Linked DNA regions of Homo sapiens: all the other regions are linked to region 1. The links are contacts of gene promoters, found by promoter capture Hi-C in human tissues and cell types (Jung and others, 2019). All regions are on one chromosome and are shown on one strand. The core of a region is centred on a gene start or on the middle of the fragment in contact, and the rest is flanking DNA. Distances in the headings are between cores, read along the strand shown. Region 1 holds the start of ALX1 (ALX homeobox 1). Region 2 overlaps LRRIQ1 (leucine rich repeats and IQ motif containing 1). Region 3 overlaps LRRIQ1 (leucine rich repeats and IQ motif containing 1). Region 4 overlaps LRRIQ1 (leucine rich repeats and IQ motif containing 1). Region 5 overlaps LINC02820 (long intergenic non-protein coding RNA 2820). Region 6 overlaps LRRIQ1 (leucine rich repeats and IQ motif containing 1). Region 7 overlaps LINC02820 (long intergenic non-protein coding RNA 2820).

What was found. Contacts are between HindIII fragments. The study calls those that stand out against the background at their distance.
Region 2: a fragment that was not itself captured here is called in contact with the fragment with the promoter of ALX1 in region 1 in 3 of the 25 tissues and cell types used here (H1 embryonic stem cells, mesendoderm cells and thymus).
Region 3: a fragment that was not itself captured here is called in contact with the fragment with the promoter of ALX1 in region 1 in 2 of the 25 tissues and cell types used here (adrenal gland and neural progenitor cells).
Region 4: a fragment that was not itself captured here is called in contact with the fragment with the promoter of ALX1 in region 1 in 3 of the 25 tissues and cell types used here (H1 embryonic stem cells, lymphoblastoid cells and mesendoderm cells).
Region 5: a contact is called between a fragment that was not itself captured here and the fragment with the promoter of ALX1 in region 1, in 2 of the 25 tissues and cell types used here (mesendoderm cells and neural progenitor cells).
Region 6: a contact is called between a fragment that was not itself captured here and the fragment with the promoter of ALX1 in region 1, in 3 of the 25 tissues and cell types used here (H1 embryonic stem cells, mesendoderm cells and neural progenitor cells).
Region 7: a fragment that was not itself captured here is called in contact with the fragment with the promoter of ALX1 in region 1 in 4 of the 25 tissues and cell types used here (H1 embryonic stem cells, liver, mesendoderm cells and 1 more).

The regions. Positions count from the first base shown.
Region 1 is chr12:85,278,376-85,281,777 of GRCh38, forward strand. It overlaps ALX1 (ALX homeobox 1), which reads left to right and starts at 1,845. Exons shown (of 4, transcript NM_006982.3): 1 at 1,845-2,112. The coding sequence starts at 1,887. RefSeq lists a silencer at 1,936-2,230. The HindIII fragment of the contact is 12,363 bases long and covers 1-3,402 here.
Region 2 is chr12:85,051,639-85,055,040 of GRCh38, forward strand. LRRIQ1 (leucine rich repeats and IQ motif containing 1) reads left to right here. Exons shown (of 27, transcript NM_001079910.2): 7 at 539-613. Among named protein-coding and RNA genes, the nearest start is that of LRRIQ1, 17 kb to the left of the region's middle. The HindIII fragment of the contact is 5,235 bases long and covers 1-3,402 here.
Region 3 is chr12:85,091,249-85,094,650 of GRCh38, forward strand. All of the region lies in intron 11 of LRRIQ1 (leucine rich repeats and IQ motif containing 1), which reads left to right. Among named protein-coding and RNA genes, the nearest start is that of LRRIQ1, 57 kb to the left of the region's middle. The HindIII fragment of the contact is 5,012 bases long and covers 1-3,402 here.
Region 4 is chr12:85,107,358-85,110,759 of GRCh38, forward strand. All of the region lies in intron 15 of LRRIQ1 (leucine rich repeats and IQ motif containing 1), which reads left to right. Among named protein-coding and RNA genes, the nearest start is that of LRRIQ1, 73 kb to the left of the region's middle. The HindIII fragment of the contact is 4,998 bases long and covers 1-3,402 here.
Region 5 is chr12:85,441,028-85,444,429 of GRCh38, forward strand. The region is part of intron 4 of LINC02820 (long intergenic non-protein coding RNA 2820); the gene reads left to right. Among named protein-coding and RNA genes, the nearest start is that of LINC02820, 120 kb to the left of the region's middle. The HindIII fragment of the contact is 3,723 bases long and covers 1-3,402 here.
Region 6 is chr12:85,135,292-85,138,693 of GRCh38, forward strand. LRRIQ1 (leucine rich repeats and IQ motif containing 1) reads left to right here. Exons shown (of 27, transcript NM_001079910.2): 19 at 2,559-2,678. Among named protein-coding and RNA genes, the nearest start is that of LRRIQ1, 100 kb to the left of the region's middle. The HindIII fragment of the contact is 5,109 bases long and covers 1-3,402 here.
Region 7 is chr12:85,420,593-85,423,994 of GRCh38, forward strand. All of the region lies in intron 3 of LINC02820 (long intergenic non-protein coding RNA 2820), which reads left to right. Among named protein-coding and RNA genes, the nearest start is that of LINC02820, 100 kb to the left of the region's middle. The HindIII fragment of the contact is 5,156 bases long and covers 1-3,402 here.

The DNA.
Region 1 (3,402 bases), core at 595-3,094:
GTGCGCGCTCAAGGCCACACTGAGCGCTGCGCCATGTGAACTAAGCTTGTGCGCCTCCTTGGGAGAACAGTCTGGGTTGGACTTTGGCCGGGCGAGCAAGGCTGCTGCTGCCAGCTGATCTGCTCGGGATCCGCCGGTCGGATCTGGGTGCTTAAGGCCGACCCTGCCTTTCGCGCAACGCTAAGGAGCAGCTCCGGGGTGCACAGCCCTCCCTGATTGTTACTCTCTGGCTGAGGCCTGGTCAGGTCTCGAAGAAGGTCTCACCAAAGAGGCGTGGGTCAGCTAAGACCCCCGCAGAAGGTGGAAACTCTCAAACCCATCAGCATGCCCACCACAGCTGGGCTTGGCCTCACCATCCTCAGAGTCCGGGCTGCTCGGCCTGCCCGAGGCCTCACCATAATTGCCAGACTTGTCTGGGGAAACGCGACGGCCGCTGTGAGTGCCAGTGTTGACAAAGGCTGTGTCAGGACGTCTAAGCAGAGGCCTACCTGGACCAAAACCTGTCTGGCTTATTTTCACCAAATTTGCTAGCTTAGGGTGCCTGACGCAAATGCGATTTTGTGCCCAGGGCACCGAACGCATTTCCCCCAAGCGCCGCGGGCTCCTAGGAAGCCAAGAGTCGTGCCAAAAGTCACACAGAAGGGCTTTCAACCTAGCAGTGCTGTCCTGCCTGCCCTACCATCCCCTCTGGTGGAAATGGAGGCCTTGGACCTGTCCGCGCCCAGGACGCCGCGCCGCGAGTGCCCGCAGCTCCGCGCGCTCACCACTCACTCCCAGAGCGCTTTTCGGAGTAACTCCACAGCAACTCTTTAAAATTAAAAGTAATTTCTGTAAAAATATGCAGACATTCCTCTTCTTCATAAACCCCTATTTGTAACAATCCTCACTTTGGCATTAGAGTAAAAGCCTTTCAAAGGCACTGATCCTAACGGGTTTTCTTAAAATAATTTGGGTCTAATGATAAAATCGTGGACCAAAGGGAAGGGTGGCGAAGAGGGTGTAGGGAATTGGTTGGCATTAGTATAATGGCTTCATTGCCTCTTGCTCGGCTTCTCTCTCCCACCCATCGCCACCGCGTCCACACTCCGCCGCATTCCAGAGAAAAAGAAAAGGCCACGGCCTCGTAAAGCTCCCAGCTGGCCCGGACCCCGAGCTCCTCCCGGTTAGAAGCCGAAGCGGCCCCTCTACTACGGCGGCTGCGATTAACAGTTGCCAATGCATCTGGTTCCTTGGGCTTCGGATTAATGTGAATCTTCCACGTAAACGATTTACGGATGAAATAAAAGCCTTTTAGAGCAATATTTCCTTTCAAGTTCTTAAGACGCCTCTAAATCTTTCTGGTAGTGAGTGGCCGGCATGGGGGCGGGGTGGGGACGGGTGGCTCAGGAAGGCGCAGGCAGTAGGGAGTGGAGGTTTAACTGCTTTGCGATCTCACCAAGATCTTCCGAAATGCCAGTCCACTGTCACGGCGGCAATGAATCTGGGTGTCAGGGGCTCGTCTCTCCTGGCATTTGTCTGAAATGGAGCTGTCTGTCTGTCTATCCTAGGCCTGGACGCCCTCTGCCCGGGTAAGTGGGGAAAATGGGGGTGGGGTAGGGGCGGAGGGGGACCTGGGGTGGAGTTAGTCGCCCGCCTATTTTCATATTCATTAGAACTGGGAGGCTGCCCGAGGAGGCCAGCTGAGTTTCAAGATATAAAAGCAACTTCGGGTGCTCCTTTTCCAGCCGGGACGTATTAAAGGGACCGGAGCGGGGCAGTTCCCGACGCCGCAGCGCTCGCTTTCCCTTCCCTCCTCTCTGGCCCTCCCTCCTCCCACCCACTGGCTCCCTCCCCCAGCGCTCTCCAGTTTCTGTGCCCCAGGAGCTACGCGACAGTCTTCCAGGATTATGGAGTTTCTGAGCGAGAAGTTTGCCCTCAAGAGCCCTCCGAGTAAAAACAGTGACTTTTACATGGGCGCAGGAGGTCCTCTGGAGCACGTTATGGAGACGCTGGACAATGAGTCCTTTTACAGCAAAGCGTCTGCAGGCAAATGCGTGCAGGCCTTCGGACCCCTGCCCCGCGCCGAGCATCACGTGCGCTTGGAGAGGACCTCGCCCTGTCAGGACAGCAGCGGTGAGTCGCTAGCGCCCCAGCCGGAGCCGCCGCAGCCCTTCCGCAATCGAAAATGCAGGATCGGTCTGATCAGGCAGGGAGGGAGAAAGGAGAAAAGTGGGAGCGAGGGACCTGGAAGGTGGAGGAAGGTAGTGGAAGGTGCTCGCTTTATGAAGCGGTGTTACTGCTGCTGCAGCCTTTGGGGGCGGAGGGCGGAGGGAGGGAGAGATCCAGCACCGGGTTGCCTCTGAGCGATTCTCCTTTCGCTGTAGGGTCTGGTCGCCTACGGATCCCTGAGTCCTTCTGTAATATTGGTTCCTGGAGTAAACTGATAGGGCGCTAAATAGAGCGTAATTGAGTCAAGACAGAACGCTTCCTCTGCGAGCCCGCCTTGCAGTCCGGGCGGTAGGAACTGAAATCGATCACAGCTCGTTAGAGTACGTCACTGTCGTCACGAGTAGGGAAAAAAAAACCGGAAAACAAAAACAAAAAACAAAAAACCCTTTGAGCTCCTTTAGGTAAAGATAAATCTTTTTAATTTTCCAAGACGTGGCGATATATTTTCAAAGTTTGAGGATCCCTAGATTTCTAGCGTGTGTGAATTTGTAATTTCTGCTTTTTTTTGCGTTTGCAATACAACACGCGTTGAATGTTTGTTAAACACTAAAGCACACTAAATAGCTTCGGGCAAACCATCCCCGGCCTAATCACTCATTCCCAGATTCTACGTTTTGTATTTTTATGACTTCACATTAAAAGTCACCTAAGGAGTCTTTGGAATGCTTCTGGGTGAAATCTTCAACTTTGAATGCCCAAGTATCTCCAAGTCAAAATGTTATCAAAACAAACCATCTATCTTTTCTATCTTGTAACCTAATACTAACCTATTATTTCAGATCGCGACAGCTAAAGCACGTTTACAATTCCAAGAGAACTTCTCCTTATCATTGTATATATTCCACAGTTAAGCTATAAGGGGCGGGTTGCTTTAAAATAACAAACGAATTAAGTGTGAAATATTTACAACAAGCCCCCTGCCCCCTATTTTATAGAAATTCAAAATCTGACAAAACACTGGCCTGTAGAAGCTCATTTTCTAAATATTTTGAACACAAGTTTTTTTCTTTTATTAATCTCATATTTAACTAATTTTATTTAACGTTGCAAGTAACTTTTGACTAAGGGTAAATCAAAAATAAAGGTGCAAATGATAGAGAAAATAATCAGCTAAGTCGTTTCAGTCATTTATTTAGAAAGATTCGAGCGTATACTTTTTGTTATTCTTACACTGAGTTGTTGGTTTTCTGGCTG
Region 2 (3,402 bases), core at 238-2,737, 230 kb before region 1:
AGATTTTGGGTAATGTGTAAATTTATGATAGTGTCTTCACATTATCAGAAGAGTTTTTGAAGAAGGGGGTTGTATTTTACTGATCTGTTTATTCTGAGGAGTCTTATCGAATGTGTTGATAAAAACTTATTGAAAGAAAACCATCACTTACTGAACTGATTTATGTGAATTAAATGGTATGACATGGTGAGAAAACAATTGTAACACAAAACCCATTTTACAAACATTATTGTAATTTTTACAATGCCTAACAGTGTTTCGAGCCAATACATTATATTCTGTGAATAAACATACTCAAATAAATACAACTTTCCTAGGTTGCAAACTTCTTTATGTTCTCAGAATGGAAACCCTAGGTATTATGTGACACTTCAGTTTGAGATTAAAGTTGTTATCCCAGTACTAAAAATTGAAAGCCATTGGTTGGGTTGTCAGCTTTAACTATTGTTTACAAATATATGTTATGAGAATCATATATAATTAACATAATATTTTTGATATTTGAGTATAGTCATATTTATTATTATCATATGTTCAGCAAGAACAGGACAAGATGAATGATGAACTCTATAAAGAAGAGAAAATTTGGAAAGAGAAATTTAAACAGCATGAGGTATCTATTTGTTGTTTTTATTTAGCACATTAAGCTTTCTTTATTTGAAATACATTACTATGCTTGAAATGGTTATTTTTAGATAATGCTGCCTAAGTAGTATAAGATTTTAGTTTATTACAGCATTAAAAATTTATTAATCCTCAGAAACACTCCTTGAAATAGAATGTCTTAAAAATGAGAGTTAGCTGGTTTGGTGAGTGTTGTCCGTATAAAATTGTAATTCTAACATTTCTTTTAAGGTTTGATGAAATGTACCATTTTGAATATTTCTTTATGTTCAAAGATTGTTATGAAAGCTTACTCTTTTTCCTAAACACAATTAAATTTGTTTTGAATATAAGATTATTCTGATGATACATATACTGATGTTTTAGTTTTTATTTACTCTAGAGTTTTCATATACAATTATTTTAAGTAATTACAAATTTAAAGTAGATATCTCCATAATCCTGTTATTTAGCTAAACATTATCCTTTTTTGTATTCCTTTCAAATCTTTTTAAAATTTATATAAACCCGCTCCTGCAAAAGTAGGTGTCTACTACACATTGTCAAATTAAAAAGCTGGTTAAGCATGTAAAGAGACAGAGTCATATGAATGACAAGTGACAAAAAAAGACAATAATAGCTCACCTATAGATAATCCAAATGGTAAGTATAGTAGAGCTGTTAAAATACCTATAATTATCATCCAGTAGCAAAATACTTAAACAGGTGATGTGAAAAGAAAAATAGCATCTATAATGAAGTACCAACTCTACATTCTAGAGTTTAAAAAATTCAGTATATAAAATTAAAATTTAGTGGGTGAATTTGATTGGACATAGCAGATGACACCATTAGTGAAATGAGACAGTTCAATAGAAAATATCCAAATTAAAGCACAGAGAAGAAAAAAAATTGCAAGAAGAGGAAAACAGCACAAGAAATATGTGACACATGGTGAAAAGATATAAAATTTGTATCATATCTTGAGAGGAGACAGAGAATGGGGCAGAAGCAAAGAGGTAAAGAGATAATGGTTAAAAAGATTTCAAATTGTTTTTAAAAAATCAACCAGCATATTCAAAGATGAAAAATAATTTCCAAGTAGGATAAATACAAAGAAAATGCTACCTTGGAATAAATAATACAATTATTGAAATTCAAAACAAAGGAAAAATAAAGTCTTAGAAGCATCTGGAGGATAAAAGACGCATTACCTAAAAAGGAGTAACAGTAAAACAAATAGCCATCTTTAAGTAAAATGATGGAAGAAAGAAGACGATTCAAAAAACGTAAGTATTCAATGATAATGGTTTCTTTGTTTATTAGTGTTCTTTGAATCCTGACTCTTCCTCCATTTTCTGGACTCAATTTTTAATTTCCTGTAGTATACACTTAAATAGTTGTCAAAAAACATTTTTGGATGCTAGATTTTCTCAATCTTTGTTTGCATATTTGAAAATATTTTGTTTTGTTTTTTGTTTTTTAAGATGGAGTCTCGCTCCGTCGCCCAGGCTGGAGTGCAGTGGCGCCATCTCGGCTCACTTCAAGCTCCGCCTCCTGGGTTCACGCCATTCTCCTGCCTCAGCCTCCCGAGTAGCTGGGACTACAGGCGCCCGCCACTGCGCCCAGCTAATTTTTTGTATTGTTAGTAGACACAAGGTTTCACCGTGTTACCCAGGATTGAAAATATTTTTAGTTTGCTTTTAAAAATGAATGGTCAGTTTCTTCGGGTGTGGAATACAGATTTATTACCACCCTTAACAATGTAAAGATATGACTTTGTTGCATATTTATTTTTGCCTGTGCTATCTATGATTGCAAATTTGATGCCTTTTCCTTACATTCTTTTGAAGCTTTAGGATTTTTCATTTTATACATTCATCCACACATATTTACTGGTTTTCTACTAGGTCAGGCACTTCTCTGAGTGTTTAAGATATGACAGTACATAAAATTGAAAATAATCCCTACTTTCAAATGCGATACACAATTTCCAAGGAGGAGAGATACAAAGAAAATCACACCTTGGAATTAAATAGTACTATTCAAATTCAAGACAAAGGAAAAATAGTGTTGGAAGCATCCAGAGGCAAAAAGACACACCACCTAAAAAGGAGCACAGTAAAACTAACAGCTTACATTCCCCAGAGGTCTGAAATATTGCTAGCATCTGTCTAAGTGTGTTGTGTATGTGTGCATGCAATGTTCGGTCTTTCTCCCATGGCTTTTTGTTGTTGTTTTTAAGAAAACGTATTTTTCTATTATTTTCTTCCCTTCAGTTTTTCTCAGTTCTTTATTCAGGAACTCCTACTAGTCATATGTTGGAGTTTCTGTGTTAATCTTCTTTACCTCCGACATATAATTTTTATCTTTGTTATTATTTGTTGTTTGGGGAAAACATCTCATTTTGAAGTTTTTTTTTAAGTAATCAGCTATCCAGCCATTCTATTTTGATTATTGGTTTAAGTGAGTCGTTTTTATTTGAACACTTGAAATATGAGGTTATTCCTGTTTAAATATTTTTTCTAAAATATCTTTATTTAAATTTTTATCTAGTTTATTTAATAGTTTGATTTTCTCAGAAATTGGTTCTTCCTTCTGCTGATTAAAATATAGTCTCATATCCTTTTTGTTAGTTTCCGTTAGATATTTGCTCAATTTTGTTGATCTTCTTACTTTTGGTTTAGGACTCTAGTAAAAATAATATTTTCTCACCTAACTCTAAATATTTCATTAAATGCAGTAGTATGTGGTTATCAACTATTTTGATCATTGAGAAGGGATAAGATATGTGAGTAG
Region 3 (3,402 bases), core at 489-2,988, 190 kb before region 1:
CTCGGTTATTTATTTATAGCAATGCAAGAATGGCCTAATACAGTCTTCCTTTGAGAAGTGTCTGTTTATGTCCTTTGCGCGTGTTTTAATGTGGTTGTTTTTTGTTTGTTGAATTGTTTAAAAATTCCTTATAGATTCTGTATTTTAGACCTTTGTCAGATGTATAGTTTGGGAATATTTTCTCCTATTCTATAGGTTGTCTGTTTACTCTGTTGATAGTTTCTTTTGCTTTACAGAAGCTCTTTAGTTTAATTAGGTCCCACTTGTCAATTTTTGTTGTTGTTGTTGTTGCAATTGCTTTTGGGGACTTAGTCATAAATTTTTTGACAAGGCTGATATCCAGCATGGTGGTCCCTAGGTTTTCTCCTGGATTTTTATAGTTTTAGATGCTACATTTAGATCTAATCCATCTTGAGTTAGTTTTTGTATATGGTGAAAAGTAAAGGTCCGGTTTTATTCTGGATGTGGATAGCCAGTTATCCCAGCACCATTTATTGAATAGGGAGCCCTTTCCACATTGCTTGCTTCTTAAAAAATTTGTTAAATATTAGATAATTGTACGTGTATGGCTTTATTTCTGAGTTCTGTATCCCAGGGGTTCCCATCTTCCAGGTTATGGACCAGTAGCGGTCCATGGCCTGTTAGAATCCAGGCCTCACAGCAGAAGATGAGTGGTAGGCAAGTGAGTGAATCTTTGTCTGTATTTACAATGGCTCACTGCTGTTTGCATTACTGCCTGAGCTCCACCACCTGTCAGTTCATCAGCAGCATTAGATTCTCATAGGAGCGTGAATCCTATTGTGAACTGAGCATGCAAGGGATCTAGGTTGCACACTCCTTACGATAATCTGGGGAGTAGCTGCAAATACAGATTAACATTTGCAGAGAGTTTTGACTGCACAGAGATCATAACAAATCAGTTGCTTACAGAATCATATAAAAACCCCATCAGTGAGTGGCAAGTAACAATCAAACTGCATTTGGTGGCAGGCTTTATGGTGTCAAGAGAGTTGATGTACTTCAATTATACAGCTGCAACTTATGGCAGATTTTTAGTCAGAATCCAACACTTATTTTAGTCTGTGTGTGGCCCACTCATTATTTTATTTATCATTTCCATCCACACCTCTTTCCTGCACTGTGCACTTGCCTCAGTCACAGTTTTTGTAAGCCCACAAGATAACCTCAGCCAAAATGAGTAAAAGCCAAACATCACCGGAGAGTTTATTTGAAAACCGTGAAAGACTCTTCAAATGATGAGACATCAGAAGACTCTGTAAGACTGCCAACAAAAGGAAAGTTGCATCTAAAAGAAAATATCAAGATTTCCACTTAAATCACGAGTTCATTGCAACAAATGATTCACATTCTCCAAGTCCATTTTGTATAATATTTGGCATCTGGCTATACAATGAACCCATGAAACCTTCAAAACTTCTTTGTCACATGGAGACCAAGCACCCTGCACTAACCTTTGGTGTTTGTCAAAAGGAAAAACATGTAGAACAGAAGCAGTTATTGAAGGCCACCACTTTATCAAACGTGCCTGCGCCGACGGCATCATTCTTAGAGACTAACCACATCGCTAAAGCAAAGAAGTCCTTTGCTATTGATGAAGAGTTAATCCTGCCTGCTGCTAATGACATTTGTCATGAAGTTTTAAGAGAGGCTGCAGTTTAAAAGATGACACATGTTCCTCTTTTGGCTAGCACCATAACCAGACAATTAGATGAAATAGCAGAGGATACTGAGAAGTAATTGTTGGAGAGGATTAATGAGTCACCATGGTACACAATCCAGGTTGATGAGTCTACTAATGTTGACAACAAGGTAACAATACTTGTCTTTATGCGATATATTTTTCAGGAGGGTGTGCATGAGGATATGTTATGTACACTTTTGTTGTCAACCAACACAACAGCTGCAGAACTATTCAAGTATTTGAATAATTACATCTCAGGAGAATGGAATTGATCATTTTGTGTCAGTATATGCACAAATGGAGCAGCTACCATGACTGGACAGCTTTCTGGTTTCACTACTCAGGTCAAAGAGGTTGCTTCTGAATGGAAGTTATGCATGGTGGCATCCTTAAAGAAATGCTGGCTAGCTCAAAAATGTCACTTGAAATTAATGTTTTGCAGGATATGACTAAAATTGTCAACCACATTAAAGTGCATGCCCTTAACTCACATCTGTTTGCACACGTACGTGAGAAGATGGATGCAGAGCATGCATGTCTTCTCTTATACAGAGAAGTGAGATGGCTTTCTAAAGGTAGATCACTGGCCAGAGTTTTTGAGCTATAAGAGCCACTCCAAAGATTTATTTTAGAAAACACCCACCACTGGCAGCACATTTCAGTAACACAAAAAGTGTCCTCACATTTGCTTACTTCTATGACATATGACACCTCAACAAACTCAACCTGTCACTTCAGAAGAGAACAATAATTGTGTTCAAGTCGGCAGATAAAGTGACTGCATTCAAAGCCAAACTGGAATTTTGGATGCAACAAGTGAACACAGAGATTTTTTATATGATTCAGACAGTAGCAGAGATTTTTGAAAGAGACTGAGCCAAGGCCTCCTTTCTCCGAGCTGCTGCATCATTGCCTATCTCAGCTTTCAAAAGAGTTTGAGCATTATTTCCCAACCACAAAAGACCCCTGAACTGAGAAGGAATGGATCTGTGACCATTTGTGAATAAGCCAGGTGAATTGACTTTGGCCAGGCTAGAAGAGGATCAACTGCTTGAGACTGCAAATGATGGTGGCCTTAAAAGTACATTTGAGACAACTTCAAATCTCCATACATTCTGAATTAAAGTCAAAGCTAGATATCCTGAGTTTGCCAGAAAAGCGCTGGAAAGCCTGCTTCAATTTGCAGCATTTAATCTTTGTGAAACAGGGCTTTCTGGAGAGATAGCAACCAAAATGAGATTACTTTGTAGACTGGACATAAGCAACACACTTTGCATGTCACTGTCTTCCATCACCAACAAATGGGGCCATCTATTTGCAGGAAAGCAAGCTCAGGGCTCCCACTGATTCTACTTTGTGGTGAGTTGTATAATTATTTTATTATATACTAAAATGTAATAATAATAAAAATAAATTTCACAATAAAGGCAATTTGCTTGAATAATCCAGAAACCATCACCATGAAACCGGTCACTGGTGCCAGAGAGGTTGGAGACCACTGCTATATCCTGTCCCATTGGTCTATTTGTTTTTGTACCAATACCATGCTATTTTGGTTACTATAGTCTTATAGCATAGTTTGAAGTCTGGTAGTGTGATACCTCTGACTTTCTTCTTTTTGCTTAGGATTTTCTTGTCTATATGGTCTTTTTTATGTTCCATATTAATTTTAGAATAGTTTTTTTTCTAATTCTATAAAA
Region 4 (3,402 bases), core at 655-3,154, 170 kb before region 1:
TAGTATTTTAAAAACATCTCTCCACTCTTTTATGGCTTTCATTGTTTCTGGTGAGAAATGTCTACTGACATTCTTGTCTTTCTTTCTCTAAGAATGATTTTAAGATTTTCTCTTGATCACTGGTATTCAACAATTTGATTACAGTATGTTTTGGTGTGGTTGCATTTAGTTTACTTGGGATTTATCACACTTTTTGGATCTGCCATTTTCATAAAATTTGGAAAATTTATGGCCATTTTTTTTTCAGATTTTTTTGTTCTCCCTTTCACTACCTATTCTGCCCTAGTAGCACTCCAGTTTCAACAATATCAGACCACTTGAATTATCCCAGGAGTTGCTGTTGTTTTCTTTTACTTATTATTATTTATTTCCCTTTCCATGCCTCACTCACTCCGAATAGTTTCTATTGCTTTGTCTTCAAATTCTCTGATATTTTCTGTTTAAGTATCTACTCTGCTTTCAGACTCATCTATTTTTCATTTCTGATTGCAGATATATTTTTCCTCTATATAAATTTGTGTATTTCTTTAACATTTGTAATTTCTCTTCTAATCATGCTCATGCTTTCTGGAACCTTCTGGAACATATGGAAAATAATAATAGCTGTATTAATTTAACTTCCTTATCTGTTCTTTCCATCATCTCTATCATTTGAAGGTCTACTTGTATTGAATTTTTTTTCACTGATTCTGGATCATATTTCTCTGCTTCATTGCATGCCTGGTCAGTATTGGTTGTATTCTGGACATTTTGAATTTTATATTCCCAATGCTTAATTTCATTGTATTACTTTAAATAGCCTCTATTTTATGTTTGGTGTGCAGTGGCTAAGTTACTTGGCACTAATGCGATACTTTCTAAGCTTGCTTTTAAGTTCTGTTAGAATGGTCCAAAGAAATCGTTGGAGTAATGCTAATTTAGCCCTACTACTATGATGACAATTTTCTGAGTATTTTTTCCAGATGTCTCATATAGAGACAGGCTGGTCTCGAACTCCTGGGCTCAAGAAATCCTCCCACCTCAGTCTCCCAAAGTGCTGGGATAACAGATGTGAGCCACTGTGCCCGGTCTTCTATGTATTCTTTTAACTTTGCCTGTGGGAACTAATCTCCTATGTCAGTTCCTATAGTTCTGCCTTCAGTTTCTACTGGTCCTTTCCCCTGAATTTAGATGGCTTTTTCTTACACATCAACAGAAGATTACTGATTTGCCAAGTTTAAGTGAATTACCTCCCAGAATACTGAGAGAATTTGCATATGTCCACTGTGAAATTTTCCACTGTGGAATTGGTGATCATTCTGGCTTACACTTTTGTCTTTTTTTATGCTCAGAACATTCACTTTTGAGATGGTTTCACATTATTTATTGTACATTTGACATTTTTATACTGTCATTTCACTGGTACATCAAGGCAGGATAAGCCAAGCATAAACAAGGCTACAATTTAGGAAAATGAGTTTGCCAATACAAACATGCTAAGTATAGGGGAAGGCACACATTTACTAAAATACATATTAGGTAGCAAAATATGTATTAGGACCATTAGAGTTTAAATCAAATCAGGAAAACTTGTCAATTTGTTCAGGCAGTTAAAATACATTTATGAACAAAACACAAACTAAAAAAAAAATAGCTATAACACCTGATCCTAGGGCAGAAGCTGTTGAATTTTTGCCCTGATTTGGTTTCTCTGCAAGGTGTGGCCATGTCCAGGAAGATCCTGGATCTGACAATTTCAGAGGAGTATAAGATATATTACAGAAGAATTAAATGTCTGGTTATGTTTAAAATTCCCATATCTGACTTAATGTACCTGTAGAACAAGCTATTAGAGTCTGGGGAATAGTCTGTCTTCCCACTCTTGTCTGAGGCTACTGCAAACCTCTGACATTCTTTCTAGGTTAATTTGTTTCCTGGATTTGTTACTTGGTCTTTGGTTAAGAAGGTAGAAGCATTTTTACACTAACTCAAACACCTATGTAATTTACTGCATATTGGTAACTTGTATATCTTAGAAGAGTTATTATCTTGGCCCAGAAAGTCCATTTTTCTTTCTTTTTTCTTTAGAGCCAGGTTTCCAAAAAAGTTTCTAATAGTACAATGTTATTTAGGGAAATCTGGCATGTTTCCACGTTTTAGAAAAAAATTTGTCAACTTCCAGTTTAGAAATGTCTTTTCCAAGTGTACGTTAAGCTGTGCAGCACAGATGAAAGAGTATGACCTAGTACAGTGGTTCTCAAAGGTGTGTCTCTTGACCAGCATCAGTCATCATCACCTGGAAACCCAGCAGAAATGCAGTATTTTTGACACCATCCAAGCCTACTGAATCAGAAACCTAGGAATGGTGTTCAGTAATCTGTACTTTAAGAAGCCCTTTTGATGATTCTGATATATACTAAAGTTTGAAAACCACCATTTTAAAACAAGGATATTCTACCCCTACCCCATACTGTGTGATCCTGGACAAGTAACTTAATTTTCTTTTTTAGATATGTGGTCTTTCTATGTTGCCCAGGATGGCCTTGAACTCCTGGACTTAAGCATTTCCTTTACCAAAGCCTCCTGAGTAGCTGGGACAAGAGGTGTATGCCACCATGTCCAGCTCTAACTTAACTTTTTTATGTCTCTGAATCCCCAGTAGTAAAATGAGGATGATAGTCTCATGGGGTGGTTATGAGAACTGAATGGTATAATACGCATAATTTATTTAGAACAATTCTTAGAACGTGGTAAGATAATGAAAATTTACTATTTCCCATTACCATGTTAACCAGATTATATATGGGATCTTATTTAATCACCAAGTATTTTATGAACTCCTCCTGTATGCAGTGTCCTCAGTGTCCTAACATGTTGGACATTATGAAGGAGATTTAATGTAACCCATAATTTTAAGACATTTTTCTAATCATACTGGGGAGATAAAATGTAGGCACAGAATTGATAACCATGAAAAATAATAATGATCAAAACCACTAATACAACATTCACTCTGTGCTCAACACTGTTCTCATTTAATCTATACAATATGCCTAATAATTATGTATGTAACCCAGCCTCCCATTTTATAGTTGAGGAAACTGAGTCCCATAAAGGCTAAATAACTTGACCAAGGTTACATAGCTATCAAGTAGAGGAGCCAGGAAATCTAACTCATGCAGTCTGGCTGCAAAATCTACGCTTGTAACTCTTAGAGTTTTTGTGTCTAATAAAACACTAGTGTCAAATGATTATTGTAGGCAACATATAAGCTTTAAAAATTTAGAAAAATCATCTCAGTTTAGTGTGACAAGGAGAAACGGCCTTGGCTAAAGGGGCACACTTTTAGTTAAACCTCAGAAGTTTGCTAAGATTTAAAATCATAAAGAACTAATAAAAGCAATTCTGGGGGAGGAATATCCA
Region 5 (3,402 bases), core at 359-2,858, 160 kb after region 1:
ATGATCAATAATTAGGATAATTCTCTACAACTAGTGGCTGATTGAATTGCTGCTGTAGTCTTAATGTGTGTCTCCCCAAAATTCATAAGTTGGAACTTAATCTGCAGTGCAACAGTATTAAAACGTGGTGACTTTGGGAAGTGATTATGATATAAGAACTCTGCCCTCATAAATGGGATGAGTGCCCTTATAAAAGAGACGCCAGGGAGCTTTTTTGCCTGTTCCGCCATGCAAGGAAACACAGAAGGCACTGTCTATAAGAAACAGGCCCTCACCAGACACCAAATCTGCTGGCACCTTGATCTTGGATTTCCCATCTTCTAGAACTGTGAGCAATAAATTTCTGTAGTTATAAATTACACAGGGTAAGGTATTTTGTTATAGCAGTCTGAATAAACCAAGAAAATTTCATGTAACCATTGTGGGATCAGAGAAAAAGCAACCATAATCCAAGGGCTTCTATTTTAAATTCATGGCCAAAAACCACAAATGTTCAAATAATATTTAGAAAATGTTTAGTATCATGGCCCATCATAATAAAGCGACTATCCAACGAGCTGCATATTTTACAACTATACCTATGCAGATGAATGGGACTGAAACACACACCCACATTCACACAAACACACATTCATGAGATACATGTACTCAGACACACCAGGGCTGACTTTTTGCCTTTCCTTTACTGTAAATCTCAAATGTGTACTAAAACTGACAAATCATTCCATTATATTTTCTCGGAATATTTTCTTTCCCACTCATTCTCTCAGAGCATTATGACACACATTTTTCCCTCTGTACAAACCTCCAACAATCTCCTAATTTCCAGGTGATTATATTAACTCATATTTAACTGGAAAATAAAACAAGATTAATCTGACTCTAGGAGGACAAGACAACTATCCAGAGATTTGCAGTGCCACCTAATGGATAGTCCAGAGGGCTGATCTAGAGTTAAGGGAGAGAAGTTAGAGGAAAAAAAAGTTATTCCCAGATGATTTTGAGCTACTTAGTGAAATACTGGGAGGGTGAAGCTGGGCAACTATGTTTACATGCTCTTATAGATAAAAAACAACCAGATTTGAGTCACTGTTGGGTTTGAAGCTGTATATGACACTTGTAATAGTGTTAAATTCTCAATGTGACATGAGAAGAGTTTTTAATAAATCTAAATAGGTGGGCATATGTAGAGATAAAATAGACTTACCAGGCCAGGCACAGTGACTCACGCCTGTAATCCCAGCACTTTGTGAGGCCGAGGCGGGCAGATCACGAGGTCAGGAGATCGAGACCATCCTAGCAAACACGGTGGAACCCCGTCTCTACTAAAAATACAAAAACAAAATTAGCCGGGTGTGGTGGCGGCCGCCTGTAGTCCCAACTACTAGGGAGGCTGAGGCAGCAGAATGGTGCAGAATGGTGTGAACCTGGGAGGCGGAGCTTGCAGTGAGCTGAGATCGCACCTATGCCCTCCAGCCTGGCAGCCTCGGTGACAGAGCGAGCCTCCATCTCAAAAACAAAAACAAAAACAAAACAATAACAACAACAAAAAGCAGACTTACCAAAAGTTAATAAAAGAAAAACAGTTAATTTAATTAATGCGACCTTCCAGCCAAACTTACCTGAAGGGATAGAAAGTGAACATCCCTAGGCAGGGGAATGTTAAGTATTCTGGATCTCATTATTCCAGGAAGGGTGGAGCATAATTTACTAGTAGATGGGGGAGGAGATTGAGGTTGTTGTCCCAGAAACCATGATTTACCTGAGAATTTCCGATTCAGCTCTTGAGGTCCACTATTCTACCAATAGCTTTCAGGCAATAATATACACTACAGTACATATTCTGAGACCTGTTTGATCCAAAGTAAACCCTGGGAATCTTCCTGCATGAGACGGACCAGCATTCAGCCCATGGGTTGTTGATGCACAGGTCTTTAGCATTTTATTGCTGAAAGCCAATCATATTTTCATTCATTCATTCATTCAACACCTTTATTGAGTATTACTACTTTAAACGCAGGGAATATTTTAAGTGCAGTAAAAATTAGATATAACCACCTTCTCTCTTGAAACTGGTATTCTGATGGGAGAAGGCAAAAATTAGATTGAGTAAGTAAAATATAAATGTAATAGACCGGGCGCGGTGGCTCACGCCTGTAATCCCAGCACTTTGGGAGGCCGAGGCGGGCAGATCACGAGGACAGGAGATCGAGACCATGCTGGCTAACACGGTGAAACCCCATCTCTACTAAAAGTACAAACAATTAGCTGGGCGTGGTGGCAGGCACCTGTAGTCCCAGCTACTCGGGAGGCTGAGACAGGAGAATGGTGTGAACCCAGGAGGCGGAGCTTGCAGTGAGCCGAGATCGCGCTACTGCACTCCAGCCTGGGCGACAGTGCGAGACTCCGTCTCAAAAAAAAAAAAAAAAAAGTAATAGATAGCAATATATGCTATGAACAAAAATATAGAGGATAGGGGTTAGGTGTGCATGAATAGAGATTATAAATTTAAATAAGGTGGGTAGAAAGGCCTGAGATGTGGTATTTAATGAAAGAACTGAAGTTTGGGAAGTATAATGGAAGAAAAAAAAAGAGTAATGACTAGTTTAGCACACAGGTATCTAGGAGGTACCTAGGGAAAGTGTTCAGGCAGAAAGCACAAAACAGTTCAATACTTTAAGCAGGTTGGTTTCCTAAGTGTGCACCCTGTGCTGATGCACAAGATCTTGCACAAGACCCTTGCCATCTTGAAATTTTTTTAAATTTTTGAACAGTAAAACTTGCATTTTGCTTTTTGTACTGGGCCCCACGAATAATATATCCAATCTGGGCCTTAAGGCACATCAGGGGAATGGCAATGAAGTCCCCATGATTAGAGGGAAGTGAGATAGACAGAGTAGTAGATGTCAGGGATGGAGAGAGGTGACATATCTTGTTTGACCTTGAATTACCTGAATAAAGCTTTAACAGAATCCGTACAACTGCTACGTTGAAAATAGAATGAAAGGATCAAGAGTAGAAACAGAGTGATCAGTTTTAAGAGAACTATTTCAGTGAAATCTTAGCAAGACTTGCTGGTAGAAATAATATCTGGACCTAAATGTAAAATACTGTTGTATCGTCCTGTTTTTATTTAAAGGCTTATAGGTTTCAATGCATTTAGATGACTGTTTAGGGACAAAAGGGAGAAAGCCTTATTATAAAGTGCCATTTGTTGCTGAAAGGCAAGCTGTGATAGAAGATTGTCTCCTGTCAATGTACCATTTATGATCTGTGATCTAAATGTCCCAAGCATATTTTAAAATATGCCTTATAAACTGTATGAAGTTATTATGATCATTACTACAATTGGGAAATTTGAACTATCTCATCTGTGATGGTTCTTTCCATTTCTTATTTTTT
Region 6 (3,402 bases), core at 313-2,812, 140 kb before region 1:
ATCTACTGTTTGTTCTGATTCAGGTTTTTTTTTTAGCAAGAATATTTCATAGGTGGTGGTTGTATTACAAAAATGAGATACATAGTATCTGGTTGCCTCTCTTTAAGGAATATTACTGGCCATTGGTAAACATTGCCTAGATCGATTATTGTATTAATGGTTTGCACAATGGTGATACTTTCTATCTACTATTCTTTATTAACTAAAGTATGTAAAAATACAAAAAAAATACTTTATTTAACTAGTTATCCTAAGGTACAGTTCAAATTAGAAAGGCAAGTTAAATGCTTGATATTAATAATTTTCCTTAATTTACCAATTTTTAGATTAATGAGGTCTCCTAGCATTCTCCAAAGGTCACCAAAATGGGTACTATGATAATAAACACAGATTTTAAATATATGTGTTTGATTTCATTGCAGTTAGTAGTCTCATCAAGTTCAATTTTTGCCACAATTTAGTAGTCTTTAAAATTGTCCTTGCTTTCTAATGTGACACAATGTTCCAGGTTCATTTGACATACATTTTGCCCCAGGCCTAGAATCAGTCATTTGTCTAAAGATCCTTGGTTTCTTTAATGGAAATGACATATAGAGCACCCCATCTGGATTTTAGAAATACTTGTTTCTACTGGTTTGGTCATTATTTATATAATGTACATTCAATGTACTTAGTTTGCAGATAGATATTTTTAGGAAAAAAAATATACCATGGGTACATATTGATGTTTTGAAATTATAGTTAGGACTATAGGATTTTTACTTATTTAATTGTATATTTGCATCTCTTTTCTTCTATAGAAAATCTTGTTTTTTACTGACATTATCATAATTGCTTTCTTTACTCCTCTCCCTCACTCCTCCAACCTGCGTGTACTTGTGTATGTGTATGTGGGTGTGCACACACATACGTATACAGTGGAAATAAAGACCACACAAATGAGAAAAAAATGGGCTACTCAGAGTATATGCTAATGAAGGAGTCAGCCATCATCACTTGCCTTTGGCATAGACCCCAAAACGTGGAAGGGAGTGGGAAAGTTTTTAGTGGAAAAAGGGAACGCTTCAGGTATGCTCTATTGGAGGTTGTTGGCATGGGGAAAGTGGGTAGGGAGAGACTAGAAGTAGAACATATTATGTGATTGGTTTGGGAAGCATATTTGGCTTTCTCTGGTTGTTCCTGAGTTAGAAGCAGAGTTAAAAACAAGGAAGCTGGGTCATTGATCAAGTTTTGACCATTCTTGGCTAATTGCTGCAGAGGTTGTCACTTAGCATTCTGGGTTATTTGCTTCAGAGATTATGGTTTGGCTTCCTAGGCTGGCTGTTAACAAAGGTTGTGGGTGACTGCTATTGTCATAGAGGGTTTCACCATTTTGTATATTTCACTTTGCTCTCTCTCTCTTTCTGTATATATATATATTTCAGAATGAAAATACCAATCTCATTACTAACAATATGATTACTGAAAACCATTTTAAAATCTCTTTTGTGGCCAAATTTGTCTTTTGAGTATATTTCACCTGGGGGTAGCCAAATAAATCTATTTTAAGTCACTTTAAATAACTTGTATGGTTATTCCACAGCATGAAACATTTTTTATATTTTAGGCATTTCTTTCTGTTTCATATTTACTTAATTTGTTTCACAGTTCTCTTAAGCATGTGCATAGTTTGAAAGTCAAATCCAAGCAAGATGTATTTAGAGAAGTCTGGCTTCTATTGCTATACATTCTACCCTGTTTTATGCCTTTATAGGTAACCATTTTTAAAATTAATTTTATAATTCGAGCTTTTTAAAATTTATATATATACATATATACTTCAAAATATGTGTTAATGTAATGTATATATTTATACACAGTTTTTCATAGCTAAACAGTAACATAAAAAACACTTATTTCTCCCTTGGTTTTTACACAGTATATTCTGAAGCTCATTCCACATGAGCATAAATATATTCTTTATATTTATAAATATAAAGATATCCATTTTTTACAAGCTACATTGTACTTGGAGTTATAGTTAGGAAAGCTCATCCTACTCCAGGATTACTGAGGAATCTGAATATTTTAAATTTTGTTATTTTATGCTTAATTTATTTAAAAATGAAATTAATTCATCATTATAGGCCATAATACTCCCTGTATAATATGGCCATTTATATATGTTGATGTTTTCTTAATTGTGCTTTATTTTATACATAATCATTTGAACATTAGCAAAATGGGTTTTGCTTTGTATCTCTTTCTTCTTAGTTTAGAATGGGTCCTGGAGGAATTGTAACATAATTGATTGGTTGACCTACATGTGCAGTTGAGGGAGTTTTAAAGATTCTTTTTTGCTTACTACAAGGAAAGTCTCCTGAGATTCAGAACTTTAGACACATGTCGTCGTTTAATTTATCTTTCAGTTTTAAGTGTCACATAAAGTTCAGAAAACAGATTATTGTGTCATTAAACTTAGGTCTAAGATGTTTTATCTTCCTAATGGGATAACACAGATAATCTGGTTTAGGGTTTGATCTATAACTTTGTATAACATACTTTACATTTTTGTTTAGGCAGTTTGGAAGGGCTTTATTTTGCGAAAGAAACTGACAACAGCTCTAGAGGCTATTAAGAATGAAGAATCCGATGAAGAATACAGAGAAATAGATTTAGAGGATTTTATATTTGATGAAGTAAGTACGAACTATAGTATATAAATATTGGTCTTAAAATACATTAAGTGTACTATTTTGAAGATAAACCAGTTTCTAAGGTGTTTATCCTATTAATATTGTTACAGACTTTTTTCCTAACATTGAGAAACTTTTCCTAACATCATCTTCTTTTATCCTACAAGCTTGTATAGTGTGCAAAGGTGGCAGCAAAATACTTACAAGAGCGTCTTTGTGCCCTTCAACCATGTTCTCCAGTTATCAAAATTAGGGAATTAACATTGATGTAATACTATGATCTAATCAACCTTATCAAATTTGTGAGTAGTCTTACTAATGCCCTATATTTAGTCTGAGATCTAATCCAGAATCATAAGTTGCATTTAGTTGTCATTTTTCCTTAGTCTCCTTTAAACTAGAATAGTTCCTCATCTTTTCTCTGTATTTTACAAATTTAATACTTTTAAAGACTACTGAAAAATTATTTTGTAGAATATCTCTGAATTTGTGTTTGTTACATAGTCTCTTCTCATTGTATTCAGGTTATGTATTTTTGGTGAGAATACAACAGAGGTGATATTGTGTTCTTCTCAATGTATCACTGCAGGAAGGTGATGAAGTTTCTCAGGACATAAAATTATCCTAAACTGCATTTGGCTTAGCTACACAGTTATAAATCCCCTGCCTTAAAACTTTTTTGTAAGTGGATGGGATATAAATTAATATAACCGTAAAGGTCATATGA
Region 7 (3,402 bases), core at 507-3,006, 140 kb after region 1:
TGCTGTGGTTTCAAATCCAATTTCTCAGTGTTCATCGTTTCAAAAGTGGCAGAATTCAGTTTTTGAAAAAGTTCAAGAACATGGGGAGGACTGGCATACTTTCTAAAGTTCCACATTGATATTAAAGGAAGCTCTGTATGGGAGAGAGCAGTTTGGTCTGAATTTTTCTATAGTGCTCCAGGAGATATTAAACCCTCCACCTTCTTCAACAAGAGCCTCTTCTTATTGGTATCAACCTAGGAATACTTTTTAAACTCATAAAGCATATTGAATACATAATCTATTACAGGTTTTCTGAACTAGGGCCCTGACTGGTTGATATCTTTTCCTAAATGGAGGGCATCGATATATCTGCTTAAGGCTTGATTCCACTGAATGTGTTTGGAAACAACTTTCCCTGAAACTAAGGGGATTTTTATCCATTCAGAAACTAAAGCAGTAGACCCTTGCACAGTAAATTCATTGTAGGCTTTCTTTATGGGTGGTGGGGGAATCTCTAAAGGTCAGGAGTCCAGATTGCTTCAAATAAACATCCAGAATCTCAGATGCTTTTTTGAAACAAGCCCAAGTTTATCTGAACCTCTTTCTCTGGTTTGGAAATCAGGCTGAAAATGTCACAGAAACAGATTTTCTTGTGAGATCTCAGAATGTTGTGGTTTAAGTAAAGTAATAAACAAAGTTGAAAAATGAAAGGCAAAATTGGCTCAAACTCACCTGGTTTCATTCTGTTAGATGCCTAAAACTGAGTGGCACTGTGCAATCTTTAAAACAGAAAAAATAAAAACAAAACAAAAACAGAGTTTGGCTGTGGGTTAGCCTAAAATCATCAAACATTTCTCCTGAGGAGGTTTAAGAGAAACTTTTGCCACTCCATCATGCGCTGTCCTTATGTTGCAATGTTTCATTTATCCCCCTCTCCATCTTCAATTTGAGAGATTTCAGAACTGGTCTTCCGTTTTTAAACTGTCAATAAGGAATAACTCTTTGACCTTTTGAAGTGGAATACGTTCCTTTTTATTTATGGGTGTGATTGCCTTGAAATGCATATTTTAGTATTTATGTGGTATATATATAAAACAATAAAAAATAAAGTAGAATTTTTTCGAATAGCTATTATTGAATACCAGGGATGAGTTAAAACTTCTCCACATATCATATTATTTAATCCTCACAGCAAAACCATTAAGCAGGTATTTTTTATCTCCATTTAATAAATGATATAAAAACAGTTTATGAAGATACAGTAACATTCTTAATTGTACAGCTGTGATACTTATAGCAAGTAAGTAGAGGCAGGATTGAAGCTGAGGATGGCTGACTTCAAAGACCGTACATTTTACTACTAATTTATGTAGTTTCCCAAGAGCTGTTTTTAAAATCCATTTAATATGTCTAATAGCTTTAGCCCTACCTATTACAAATAATGGGTTACATATCTAACACACTAGCTGAAAAGTTCGTTTCTGAAAAAGTCTCTTTTCTGTGTCATGTGGTCAAAGAGTTTTATATGAGTAATGGATATGGTCTTGTAGACTTTTGGATAAATCCTTAAGGAAAAAGCCAACTGTGTATTTTCAATACACTGAAAAGCAGTGTATTAGATATATAGCTGAAATTATTATAATGATAATGCCTTAGATTTATAAGCACTCTACAGAATCCAAATCCTTTTGTATTTGTTTTCTCATTCTAATCCTTCCAACAAACTAGAAAGTAGGCAAATAAGGCATCTGGATCCACGACTGGGGAAAACTGAGGCTTCATGAAATTAAGAGATTTTTCCAAAGTCATGAAACGAAAATAAATCCAGAAGAAACGGCAAATGGAATGTTTTACCTATGTAAATTGCTCTTTGCAAATCAACACTTCAAAATTCCACTCTGCGGTCACCTTTTAATATCTTATGTTATTTTCTCAGTCGCTTCTTTTCAATTACGCTCACTTTTCTCCACAGTACTTTTGCATATTTCAGCTTTTTATATATACTGTGCTCCTGTTAGAAAGTGTTCTGCACTAACTGATAAAATCCAAACTACTTTTGCAAAGCCTGAAAAGGTCTAGACACATGATACCAATGCTATTCTTGGGCTACCCATTTAAGTTATGTATCAAGTCTAAATTTAATCAAGGCCACATTTTATTTATACATTTCATGCATTAAACTCATTTAAACTTTTAGTCAGATTTCATTAGAAGAAATACTACCGTGTACATCATGCAGTAGTAAAGCTAATGTGCTTCAAGAATTTGAAAGGAGTTGGAGATCGGGGGTCTGATTTCAAAATTTCTTTTTCTTTCTCTCCTTAGTGCTTGCAGCAGGTCTGTGAGCAGCACACAGTTTGTTTCCTAGGACACTAATACAGTCAGCATGCTCTGTACAAATGTGTAAACACAGACATTCCCTGTAATCAGGGAGGTTGGTGTCTTAAGGCAAGATTATGTTTTTTTAGGAAATGCAATTTATGTTCAGGATTAAATTTCTCTTGCAGACTGATAACGTCTGAGGTTCAGGGAGATGATAATAAGTGTTGTGTCCTAAACTGCCTGCCCTGAATCTGAAGCCTTGAATTAGTCTTCCTGTATAGCCCTCATTCTTATGACCCCAAATTAGGTAGTTCTTCATGTCTTAGAAAGATGAGAGAAGTAAATAATATAAAAAGACAAAATACACTTTAAAAAATGTAAAGCATCTATAAACCTCATGGTGGTTACAAGGAAATACAGAGACATAAGGAAAAAATACAGATGACACCATGGCTAATATCCTTCTTCACAATTCAGGAAATTTAAATTTGTGTCTGGTACTTTGGTATTCGTGAAATTGAGATGGAGATGGGCAGAAAGTTAGACAATATTCTTATAATCGCTTTAGTCTTCTCATGGAATGATCCTAACACTATAAAACAACTTAAACACATAACAAATATTCTCTTTCTAAACAGTAGTTGAAATAAATCCAACCAGAATACCAAGAAAACCTTCTCTATAAATCCTTTCATCACAAAACTGCTCTATTTCTTTTCCAAACCAGAAAAAAAAGTTTTCAGAAGTTAAAAGGGCAGTTTTTATGCCAAAACCACAATTTTTTTGACCTAATATTAAATTCTTAAGATTTTTTCCTTTCTTTCTTTCTTTCTTTTTCTCTTTCTTTCTTTTTCTTTCTTCTTTTCTTTTCTTTCTTTCCTTCTTTCCTTCTTTCTTTTTCTTTATTTTTTTCTTTTTTCTCTTTTTCTTGCTTTCTTTCTTCTCTCATCTTCCTCCTCTTCCTGTCATTGTCTTCCTTCTCCTTCTTTTCTTTATTTTTCTTTTTCTTTTAACCTTCAGAGGCAGAGATCTGTGGTTACTACCAACTCCTTTTTACACAGGGAGTGCAGATCATACAAAAGAAAAACATAGCCTTGA